Regions from separate parts of the Homo sapiens genome. Here region 2 is linked to region 1. Evidence: promoter capture Hi-C in 16 types of primary human blood cells and fetal thymus (Javierre and others, 2016). All regions are on one chromosome and are shown on one strand. The core of a region is centred on a gene start or on the middle of the fragment in contact, and the rest is flanking DNA. Distances in the headings are between cores, read along the strand shown. Region 1 holds the start of CYP2C8 (cytochrome P450 family 2 subfamily C member 8). Region 2 holds the start of ACSM6 (acyl-CoA synthetase medium chain family member 6).

Evidence for each region. The method cuts DNA at HindIII sites, captures the fragments that hold promoters and counts their contacts. A CHiCAGO score of 5 or more calls a contact.
Region 2: the fragment with the promoter of ACSM6 here is called in contact with the fragment with the promoter of CYP2C8 in region 1 in 7 of 17 cell types (total CD4 T cells, monocytes, non-activated CD4 T cells and 4 more); the score reaches 11.1 in total CD4 T cells.

What each region holds. Positions count from the first base shown.
Region 1 is chr10:95,066,548-95,071,973 of GRCh38, forward strand. CYP2C8 (cytochrome P450 family 2 subfamily C member 8) reads right to left here and starts at 2,950. Exons shown (of 9, transcript NM_000770.3): 1 at 2,688-2,950; 2 at 982-1,144; 3 at 661-810. The coding sequence starts at 2,855. RefSeq lists a promoter at 2,855-5,426 and a cis regulatory region at 4,765-4,785. The HindIII fragment of the contact is 5,972 bases long and covers 909-5,426 here.
Region 2 is chr10:95,190,785-95,196,235 of GRCh38, forward strand. It overlaps ACSM6 (acyl-CoA synthetase medium chain family member 6), which reads left to right and starts at 3,454. Exons shown (of 11, transcript NM_207321.3): 1 at 3,454-3,519; 2 at 3,681-3,893. The coding sequence starts at 3,702. The region is part of intron 3 of LOC107984257 (a long non-coding RNA gene); the gene reads right to left. The HindIII fragment of the contact is 2,815 bases long and covers 2,654-5,451 here.

The sequences.
Region 1 (5,426 bases), core at 1,700-4,199:
CAGTAAGTAGTGGTTAACAAGAAATAATTAATCCTGACAGTTTTCAAATAGTACTGTGTTTCCCGAGAAATAAGAACTGATGAAAACTGTACTGAGATATACCTAAGCAAGTAAAACCATACATAGTGTCATTGCTGGCCAGAGCTGTAGGCATGGACCTGGAAGGAATTTCCAGACATGTGAGTATGACCATATGAAAAAACTCGAATTAAATGAAAGCACATATAACTTGGTTCATATTTCATGAAGTGTGATGAGGTCACTTTCACCATGTCCACTTTCCAAGTGTTCTCTGGTGAAATGTTCTGGTGGAGGTAATGCAGATTTATGCTATGGGGGAAACCTTCTTTAACTCTTCAAAAATGAACTCAAGACCCTTATTTATAATTTCTGATTTGAAAACAAGGAAACAAAATTGAGCAGAAAATAGGATTAAATGACCTTTTATTCCTACACCCTATGAACCAACACATTTATACAGGCAAAGCACAGATACACAAAACCTCCCTTGTCTCTGTGCTTCAAATCTCCCTCCACCACCTGAGGGCTGACAACCAGGATGCGCAATGAAGACCTGGCCACCCCTGAAATGTTTCCAAGGACGTCACTAGTGAAGACAGGTAACTGTTAAGGTCAATGACGCAGAGTAGAGTCACCCACCCTTGGTTTTTCTCAACTCCTCCACAAGGCAGTGAGCTTCCTCTTGAACACGGTCCTCAATGCTCCTCTTCCCCATCCCAAAATTCCGCAAGGTTGTGAGGGAGAAACGCCGGATCTCCTTCCATCTCTTTCCATTGCTGGAAATGATTCCTAATAAAAAAAGGGGCAGAAACTGGGAGAATTCACAGCCAAGGAAGAAAGTGCTGCAACACTTGGCAGCCATGCAGATAGGCTAAGCTCTGCTGAGAAGCTTTTTAGGGCTCTGTTTTCCATCCCCCTCACCCCAGTTACCAAAGCTGACACAGAAATATGTGCACCTACCAAGTCCTTTAGTAATTCTTTGAGATATTGGGGAATTGCCTCTTCCAGAAAACTCCTCTCCATTATCAATCAGGGCTTCCTTCACTGCCTCATATCCATGAAACACCACTATGGGATTCATGCCAAAATACACGGTGAACACAGGACCATAGACTTTTGAGAACTGGGAAAGGAAATGCAAATAGCAGCAAAATAAGTCGCTATTTGCTCCAAATACTATGTATGATTCAGACTGACATTTTCATTGTATTTTTTAATGTTCATATTTGCCACACATAGATTCGATATTTCTGAATTTTGTACATAAATGTGATGGTGATTGTTATAGCTGCCACTTATAGATGGCCTGTGATGTGCCACGCAATGACCCAGGCAATTGGTACACAAATCACACAGTTCATCCTCACTTCAACACATTCAGCACATTCATTTGACCTGTTTTAAAAATGAAGAAACTGAGGCCAGAGAATTGCAGATTCATTCTCAGAGTCCCACAGGTAATATGTAGAAGCTCCAAACTGGAATCTCTGCTAATTTAAACTGATGCTTGAGCAATTAATCAATCCCCCATGTCCACCTTGAGGCCACTACCCAGCTAAAGACTTCAGGGTCACTTGTAAAGCTCTTAACATGAGGATTCTGATACAGCAGTCCTGTGATGAACCCTAGAAATCTGTATTTACAGTGTCACCCCAGGTGATTCTAATGCCCAGTCCAGTTTGTAACTGCTGGTATTACCAATATGGAACGATGAAGCACCACAAAGTTAGAATCAGGACATTCAGCATCTCCTGGAAGAACAATTTCTTCCATTCTCCAGCAACCTTGGCCACAGACAGTGGCTTTCTTCAGAATCCAAAAGAATTCTGTTAACTACCTATTGGGCCCTGACTGATTACTTCTTTCTTTCATGCACTTATGTTTGCCCTGAACCCACAGATATTTATTTCACATCAGCCATCAAATGAATCTTCAGAGAAGTTCAATTTTCATGACCATTCTGAATAAAACACATGACTACTATAGTAGAGAACTTATTGGATGAAATTTCTAATCACACACACTTCCCTTCACCTTCAGTCAAAAATCATAGCAAAACACTGTGAAACAAAGAGGAGAAACAGCACTTTAAACTTTTGCCACTGTATTAAATGATTATATAATACAATGACCCCAATGTTTCTGTATTCACAAAATGCATCAACTCACTCCGCTATTTCTGACAATGACAGACTTAGAAAGACAAAAGAGGCCAGGTACGGTGGCTCACACATGTAATCCCAGCACTTTGGGAGGCCAAGGCAGGCAGATCATGAGGTCAGGAGACTGAGACCATTCTGGCTAACACGGTGAAACCCTGTCTCTACTAAAACATACAAAAAATTAGCCGGGCATGGTGGAGGGCACCTGTAGTCCCAGTTACTCGGGGGAGGCTGAGGCAGGAGAATGGTGTGAACCTGGGAGGCAGAGCTTGCAGTGAGTGGAGATAGTGCCACTGCACTCCAGCCTGGGCAATAGAGCGAGACTCCGTCTCAAAAAAAAAAAAAATAGGAAGACAAAAGAAACATCAAAGAAGTTCAGAGGGAGTATTTTGCTTTACAATGATCTATTATAATAGTGTGCTTCCAGGAATATATTTTGTCTAAAAATAGCAGTCAAATAACTTACCCTTTGCAATTGGCTGGAGGAACATAAGGCAGACTTACATTGGTGAAAGATTTGCAGATGTCCTTAACATCTATCTGTAGCATATTTCCAATAATAGGAAGAGGAGTGGGGCCAGGAGGGAGCTTCCTTCTCCTACAGCTCTGTCTCCAGAGTGAAAAGAGAAGCATAAAAGAGAGACACAGCACCAGGACCACAAAAGGTTCCATTGAAGCCTTCTCTTCTTATTAAGACAGCTGTGAGCTTGCACTCCAAAGTTTTTATAACACTCCCTGCTAATTTAGTGTGTGTCTCTTTGACATGTAAAGTAAACAATCACCTAGATCCAATTTATACTTTTTTTCTGAGTGGACTTTGGCCCATGGATAGAAATAAAATGTTCTTTTGTCCTACTCCTTCTTTCCAGTGCCAATCTAGGAGATTCTGGTTTAATTGTATTGGATTGGAGCCCAGGTATTTTTAATTAAAAGTCCCTGGTTGTTCCAATGTGCTGTGATGATGGAGAAACACTGAAGTAAATGATTCTATGTTAGAATATACTCAAAATTCAATATTCTCAGATTAATGACCAGTTGGGAATTTATGACCTTGAGGGAAATCAGTGTATTCTATATTTTGTGTATAAAAAATGTACATTGTAATGCTATATCAAAAAATAGGAGACTTAGCCCTTGATAACAAAAGCCTTTCAAATATTTAGTATAGTTCACTTAAAATACAGCTGCCTAAACATGAAATAGTGAATATAACTCATACATGTTGAATTACCATACATATATCAAATTATTAGCTAATAAATGTATATTTATATATATTTAAATGTATATAAACAATATACATAAATATATATGTTATTACATAATAATATTTGTGTTATTATTACATTATTATAATAATAGGTGATTATTTACTTTACATGTCAAAGAGACAAACTGAATTAGCAGGGAGTGTTACATACATTATTACATAATAATAACATAAATACATATTTATACTATTAAATATTATATTAAATATATAAAAGTATATATATAAATGTATATTCATCATTAAAAGAGACTGGAGTATAAAGATTATCATTTTTTATTTTTCAAATTGGGAAAGAAACTCTGGGAGAACAGGACACCTGTCAGTGCCACACAGCTCATTGCCGGTAAAACCGGGATTTGAGCAGAGATCTTCTGATACCCATTGGGGTTCATTACCACTTACACCACAGCTGGCTCAAGAACAATTTTAGAAAAACAAAACAAACCCCAGACATTAGTTACTCTGAAGATACGCCACCTTGACTCTGTTCAGAAAGCAACAGGCTTCACATTAAATAGAAGTCCGTTATTTGTTTATAAGGATAAGAGGACCGGAGACGCTCAAAAGAAGAAATAAAAATTAGAGTTCTCCCCTCTGCATCACCTCACAAGTGAAAGTTGTTCAGCACTATTAAGGAAAGGGCCAATCTCACATAATTTATGGCACAGGGCTTGAAAATCTATGGCTTCTCCACCTTCCAGTCACCTCCAGACATGGCTGCTTCTATTGTTTTTGGTCTGTTATTGTTACAAATAATAGAATGTAATCATACACAGCAAGGAAGAGAAATTATACACAGAACAACAGTTGTGGATTCAACAGAAGATGGAACACAGGGAAATCACTGAATGGACCCAGGGCACAGAACCACTGCAATGTGCAGACCTGAAATGGGAACTGATAGTCAATGGTCATGAAGATCTAAATACAACTGGATTTATGAACATTACTAGATCACTAATAACAAAGTGTGTATACAAAGGCATGCTCTGAAAAGATTACCTTTATTCTAAATTGACCAGTACAGTTATTTCCAGCTCTTTCATTAAGAAAATATTAAGACCCAGTTATACAATGTTTTATCGATTATGTTTATAGACATTATGACAAATTTACAGAGAATTTTCACACTCATCACATCTCTTTTTATTCTCTCAATTATCTTTGCCCACTGTAAAATTATTCCCAGTTTAGAGAGGAGAAAGTTAGACCATGGAGATTCAGTACTTTAGCTAAGGACACACAGAATGCAAGTGACCAAGCTGGGGCTGGAAACCATAACCCCTGCATCTTGCTGCCTTCCTTTTAAGCAAAACATCCAGTTAAACCGGGCCACCAAGATTGACTAAAATTCAATACTTGTGGATTAATCTAATCAGTGACTTTCAAAATAAACATTAATTTAGTTAATAATTCTAGCACCAGTTGAGTAAAATGTGGGTCAGACGTGTTTGGTTTTATAACCTTTAAAAGGTGAGTGAGTCCAGGTCCTGGTGAACCCTTTATCCAGGGCAAAGGGAAGTAGTAATTTGCTGCCTCACTCACGTAGGTATAAGCTAGTTTATTTGGATAAAATAAGTTCACTTTCTCTCTTTAGAGCAATAATTTTATTCCTTGAGAAACAGTTGCCCTTGCTCTGCTCCTTGTTTCTTCTCCTGAGCTGAGGCTCCTGCCTTGACCTTTCTTTTTATAGAATAAAAGGAACATAGATAATTTAAAGACAGACGGGATCTCTGAGATCTACTAATTTAATTTTGCTTTGTTTTTCAGGAATGAGCAATTGGTGACTCAGTGAGTTAGAGCATTATCAATGCACCAGTAAAAGATTTTGTATTAGAATCCCAGTTTTCCTGCTTGGTGGTTCAGTGAAATACCCTATCCTATAGAATTCCCACCTAAGTCCAAATGATCAAGAGTGTATTAGCATTAATTAAGCCCTCTACAGTCACAGATTGACACCCACCTCAGCT
Region 2 (5,451 bases), core at 2,204-4,703, 120 kb after region 1:
CAAAATAATAAAACCCATATATACAAGCCTACAGCTAACATTACAGTCAACTAGCTTTTCCCTAAGATCAGGAGCAAGACAATAATGCCCACTCTCACCATTGCTATCAACATAACACTGTTAATTTTAACCAGAGCAACTAGGCAAGAAAAAGAAATACAAGGCCTCCAAATCAAAATGAAAGAAGTTAGATTGCCAATGTTTGTAGAAAACATGATCTTATATAGAGAAAACCTAAAGACTTCACCAAAAACCTGTTAGAACTAATAAACCAATTCAGTAATGCTGCAGGAGATAAAACTAACATACAAAAATTAGTGGTGTTTCTATACACTAAAAACAAACTATCTGAAAAAGAAATCAAGGAAACCATTCCACTTACAAGAGCATGAAAAATAAATTAAGATATTTAGAAATAAATTTAACCACAGAGCTGAAGGACTTGTAAACTGAAAATCATAAAACATTTATAAAAGAAATAGAGATAGTTTTAGCAGGACAATGTACCTAGGATTTCTCAGTCACCTTCTCCATACAGCAAACCTAAAGGGAAACTGGTTACATTCCCATTTTACCCAAACCTATAATTTTGAATTGCCCCAAAGTAGCTACCATTAAGTTAGTAGGGAGGATTGGTGAAGCCCAGAAGCCAGTATATAGAAGATCATACTTTCCAGGCCTGCAAGCTATGTTTTGACAAAATATTTGATTATGTCTATTTACACATGGAATTTATCTAAGGAAAGTAGACCAGAAGCCAAATGCTTGAGGAAATTGTATGACAAAAAAAAATACTCGTAAGTCTGGACTTTCTGATACATAGACTAGTTTGACCCATAATAGAACTCCTGAGACCCCAGTTCTGTACCAGCATGAGGTGGGCTACAAAAGCCATGCTGTCCTCAAGAAGGGCATATTCACCAGTGCCACTTCAGATATGGCCAAAGAGGATCACAAACAAGAAATGGCTTTCCAGAAGGCAAGCCAAATATCGAGATGACAGCAAAGGTGAGATTGCCTCCCAGAAAGCAGAATTAGTACTTGCCAAGTGAGCTGAGAACCCAAACACTGCCAGGATGTATGCTTTCACCATTCCTGCCCAGCAGGATTTGACAACTGGGTATTGCTGGGCCCAAGTCAGCTGGGTAATGCTCATTTTTCTCTTTCCAGTCTTGGAGTTTTCCATGCAATTTTATGGTTCCCACTTCAGACCTAAAGAGTGGGTTGTTTGGAGAGTAGAGATAACTTATGTTTTAGTTTCTAGTTTGCCATATGGCAGGGACCCCATCCCTGTTGGTTGAAGAGAACTGAGCAATACCCTCCATCTTGAATTTTGAGTTAGATGTAGCAATTCTGTGAGACTTAGAGGTTATGCTTCTTGGAGAATATTCTATAAATGGGAAAACTGTTCCATGTTGTGTTCATGGATAGTCAATGAATAGACTGTGATGGAAAATGCTAGTTGTCTCTCAGTATTCATGCCCACATCTCTCTCATGCATATGGAATCTCCAGTTCTTAGTTGAGCATATAGGCACTCAGAATAAAGATCACAGTTCCCAGACTCTTTCTGAAGCCACATAACTTAAGTCTGCGCCAATGGAATATGAGCAGAGGTAATGTGTAAAAATTTCTAGTTATTCACCTAGGCAAGGGGAATGTTCTTCCCCTCACCACTCTCCCGTCCCACTGGATGGAATATGGACGTGATGGCAAGTTGTTTCAGAAATGCCCTAAAGATGGTGGAGCAACGTTACAGAAAGAATCTGGGTCCCTGAAAGGGTGAAGATACTAAACCAGTGTGATGGATGATTTTAGGTGTCAACTTGACTGGATTCAGAGATACCTAGATATCTGGTAAAGTATTCATTTCTTGATGTGCCTGTGAGGGTGCTTCTGAAGGATATTGGTGTGTGAGTAGGTGGATTGAGTGGGAAAGATCCACCCTCAATGTGGTAGGCGCCATCTTATTGGCTGAGGGCCTAGATGCAATGAAAAGCTGAGAAAGGGAAAATTTCTCTCTCTTTCCGTGTGTGTGTGTGTGTGTGTGTGTGTCTATCTACCTCTCCCCCTCCTGGAACTGGAACACCCTTATTCTCCTGCCCTTGGATATCAGAACTTCAGGTTCTCAGCCCTTCAGCCTCAAATTGAGAGTTAGGCCATTGGCTTCCCTGGTTCTAAAGATTTCAAACTTGGACTAAGCCACACTACCAACTTCTCTTGTTCTTCAGCTTACACCATAGGACTTCTCAGCCTCCATAATCACATGAGCTAATTCCCCTAGTAAGTCCCTCTCACATATCTGTATCTATATTCATCTTTATTTCTCTATTTCCTATTGGTTCTGTTTTTCTGGAGAACCCTGACTAATACAAACAGCTTTTCACTGCATATGCTCAGACTGTCAATTGAAGAAACAAATTTACTATTTTGTGTCTTTGTTGAAGCAGCCAAACTTATATCTAACCAATGCACCACAATAAGGAGTTTATTCATCTTAAAGGCAGCGTGATGTTTTAGGCAGTACTTGGACTAGATAATTTATTGGAATATTTTAGTTCTAATATTAGATATAGTTACAATGTTAATATCATCAAATTGAAACCATTAAATCTCAGATTTCTGGAATGCGAATAAGTGAACCCATCATCCAAAGCTTACATTATTTTACTCCCTCTGGCGACTGGAAACATGGATAGGAATTGTGATGAAGAACTTCAACCACCAGTAACCAAGTTACACCTCACACAGTTATAAATAAAGTTAAAATCTTATCAAAACAATAAATCTTCAATATTTTATTAAACAAATATTGTGACCTCTTTTAAATATATGTTATACACACCCCCTTTCAAATTTTAGTTTTGCTAATTTGAGGCTCCAAGGTGGACCCTCCCACCGCCCCCCGCTGAGGATCATGAGATCTGGCTCCCTACCTGATTGTTGCAAGACTTTCACCTACACTACCTTGAGTACGAGACTTTCACCTACACTACCTCGAGAGGCAATCCCTAGAGGGCCTTCGATGTGCCTATTTATTTAAAAAAAAAAAAAAAAAAAAAAAAAAGGCCTGTCATCTCAGTGGGTTAAAGAGGCAGGGTGTGGTTACCTCACCTGGCTGATGAGCAACCCCCTTCTCCCTTTCTGCAGTGCAGGATTTTGTAAGCAACAAAATCTTATTTAAACTCTGTGTCCATCATCTTTTCACCACACTTGGCACAGTAGTCTGTGACCTATTTCTCCTGACATCATATCAGAAAGCAAGGCACACCTGTTGCTTCAACTTAGCTCACAGCCCATAGATTTTATCTCCCAGAAGCAAAAGAGATTGCCTTTTAGGCTTGAGAGCCAATGAAAGTGAGCCAGGACTTAGTTTGTGCTGGCACCAAGGAAATGCCTTTTTCCCCAGAGCCGGCAACTAAACTATAAGAGGTAAGCAGTTCTCAGAGGAGACAGAAGGCAACAGCTCTACCATCCTCCAAACATCTGAAGCCCCCCATAGAAACTCCTCTTGGAATTGGTAAGTATCTGTGCTCATGGGCTTCTTCTCCAATGATCTGACTGTTGCTTGTACTCATAAGGAAATTGTTTGCCTTATGGATTCATTCTCAGCACTACAATCTCAGTGATTATCCCTCTGAGCTGCTCAATTACTCCCTGTCTTTTCCTCAATTTACCTAGGTGGTTCCCTGTCTGACCCAAATGCTAGGCCGATTTCAACCCTTCTCCTTGGTCCGGAGTTTCAGACTGGGATTTGAAGCCTGCTGCTATCCAAACCAAAAATGTGCTACTCAGACCATCAGACCCCCTGACTCCAGGTGCCTAGTCCAAGCAGTTTCTCAGAACTTTAATTTTGCAAAGGATGTGTTGGATCAGTGGTCCCAGCTGGAAAAGGTAAAACTTGTTGTTTTCTACCTTGGAAACTTTGGCCAAGGCCAGTTGGTAAAGCGTCCAAAGATCATGAGATTCATATCCCATCTATGGCTGGCACTAGAAAGTGCAAATTCAGAGAAAAGAAATTATAGCAAAATGACTAAGAACATAGGCTTGACAGCCAGATGGTTCTACATTGAAATCCTGGCTCTGCTGCTAAATAACCATGCAAACTTGGACAAGTTATTTGCCTTCTAGGACCTTAGTTTTGTTATCAGTAAAATTGAGATATTAATGGTGTGTTTTTCACAGTGTTGTCGAGAAGATTAAATGAGACAATCAATAAAAAGTGTTTAGCACAGGACTCAACACCCTGAAAACACTCAATAAAAGTTAGCTTTTATTATCACTAGTAATATTATTGTCACATAGATATGATTCTAATTAACCAACATTTTTGAGCATCTTCTAGCACATACAAAATTTTAGAAGCCAAACACTAAAGGAACTTACTGCGTAGTGTTTTTCTTTAAAGCAAATGATAGCCACAAAGTGCTGAAAAAGAAGTGCCAAAGGAAATAAGTATAAGTATGCCTCTGGATAATGGAATTTAGAAAGATTTGATAAAGGAGGTGGTATTTACTGCATCCTGAAGAATGAGAAGAATTTCAACAAAAAGACAAGGGAAAGACTGTCTAGGCAGGAACAACCACATGAATAGAGACATCATGGAAAGAAGGAAGAGTATTCAGGAACAGTTTGGCTAGGTATAGGGTCAGAGGGAAGAGTATTGAGTTATGAGGAGAAAACAGGCAGGAAGCAGTCTAATTTTGAAAGGCCCTGCTGTGTGGAGTGGACTTGCTTACTCTCTGGCTAGGTAACTCTGGAGCAAGTCATTTTAACTCTCTGAGCCTCATTTCCTCCCTCTGTCAAGTGGGGCTGGTGGTGCCCGCAGGAGAATCCAGTGCGTGTGGAGAGTGAGCAGCGAGAGTTATTTGCATGTGTAATATCTGATTGCCCCTCTATTCTCCTCCCCTCCCCAGGCCCCTTCCTGGCCCTCCCCACCTTCATCACCCGCTTTGGGAGGAGTAAGGAAAGTGGACAAAACAGTAATTCATTGTCTTTGTGCAAAATATACTTACTGCCTTTGGTGCATCATCTAGGGTTAGATAAGAGGGAAGACTTCTGTTTAGGAGACTTAATTTTTACCCATTTGGGCCAAAGAACAAAAATTCTGTAGAGCAAGGATTGTGAAAGCTCCTTGAAAAGGTTTGAGGCATGTATCCTGAAGGACTTTGGGGTGCTTTCATCTTTGCTGAGCTGTGCCCCCTCTTGGGGTGCCCTCCCCACCCATTCTGCCTTCCCAGCCCAGCCTGTGCTGCTTTCTCTCTCCTCTGCTTTTCTTAGCTTGTGTTCTACCACCAGGCACTATGTGTGAGTCCTGGGTCCCAGTAAGATTCTAGGGCTAGCGTTGTGCCTTTTATCTCTTTGTGCCCGCATGGCATCTGGCACCATGCAGAGCCTTGTTCCTTTGCTCAGCTCTTGATTAAGCATATGGATTACAGACAAAGGCCCAGCT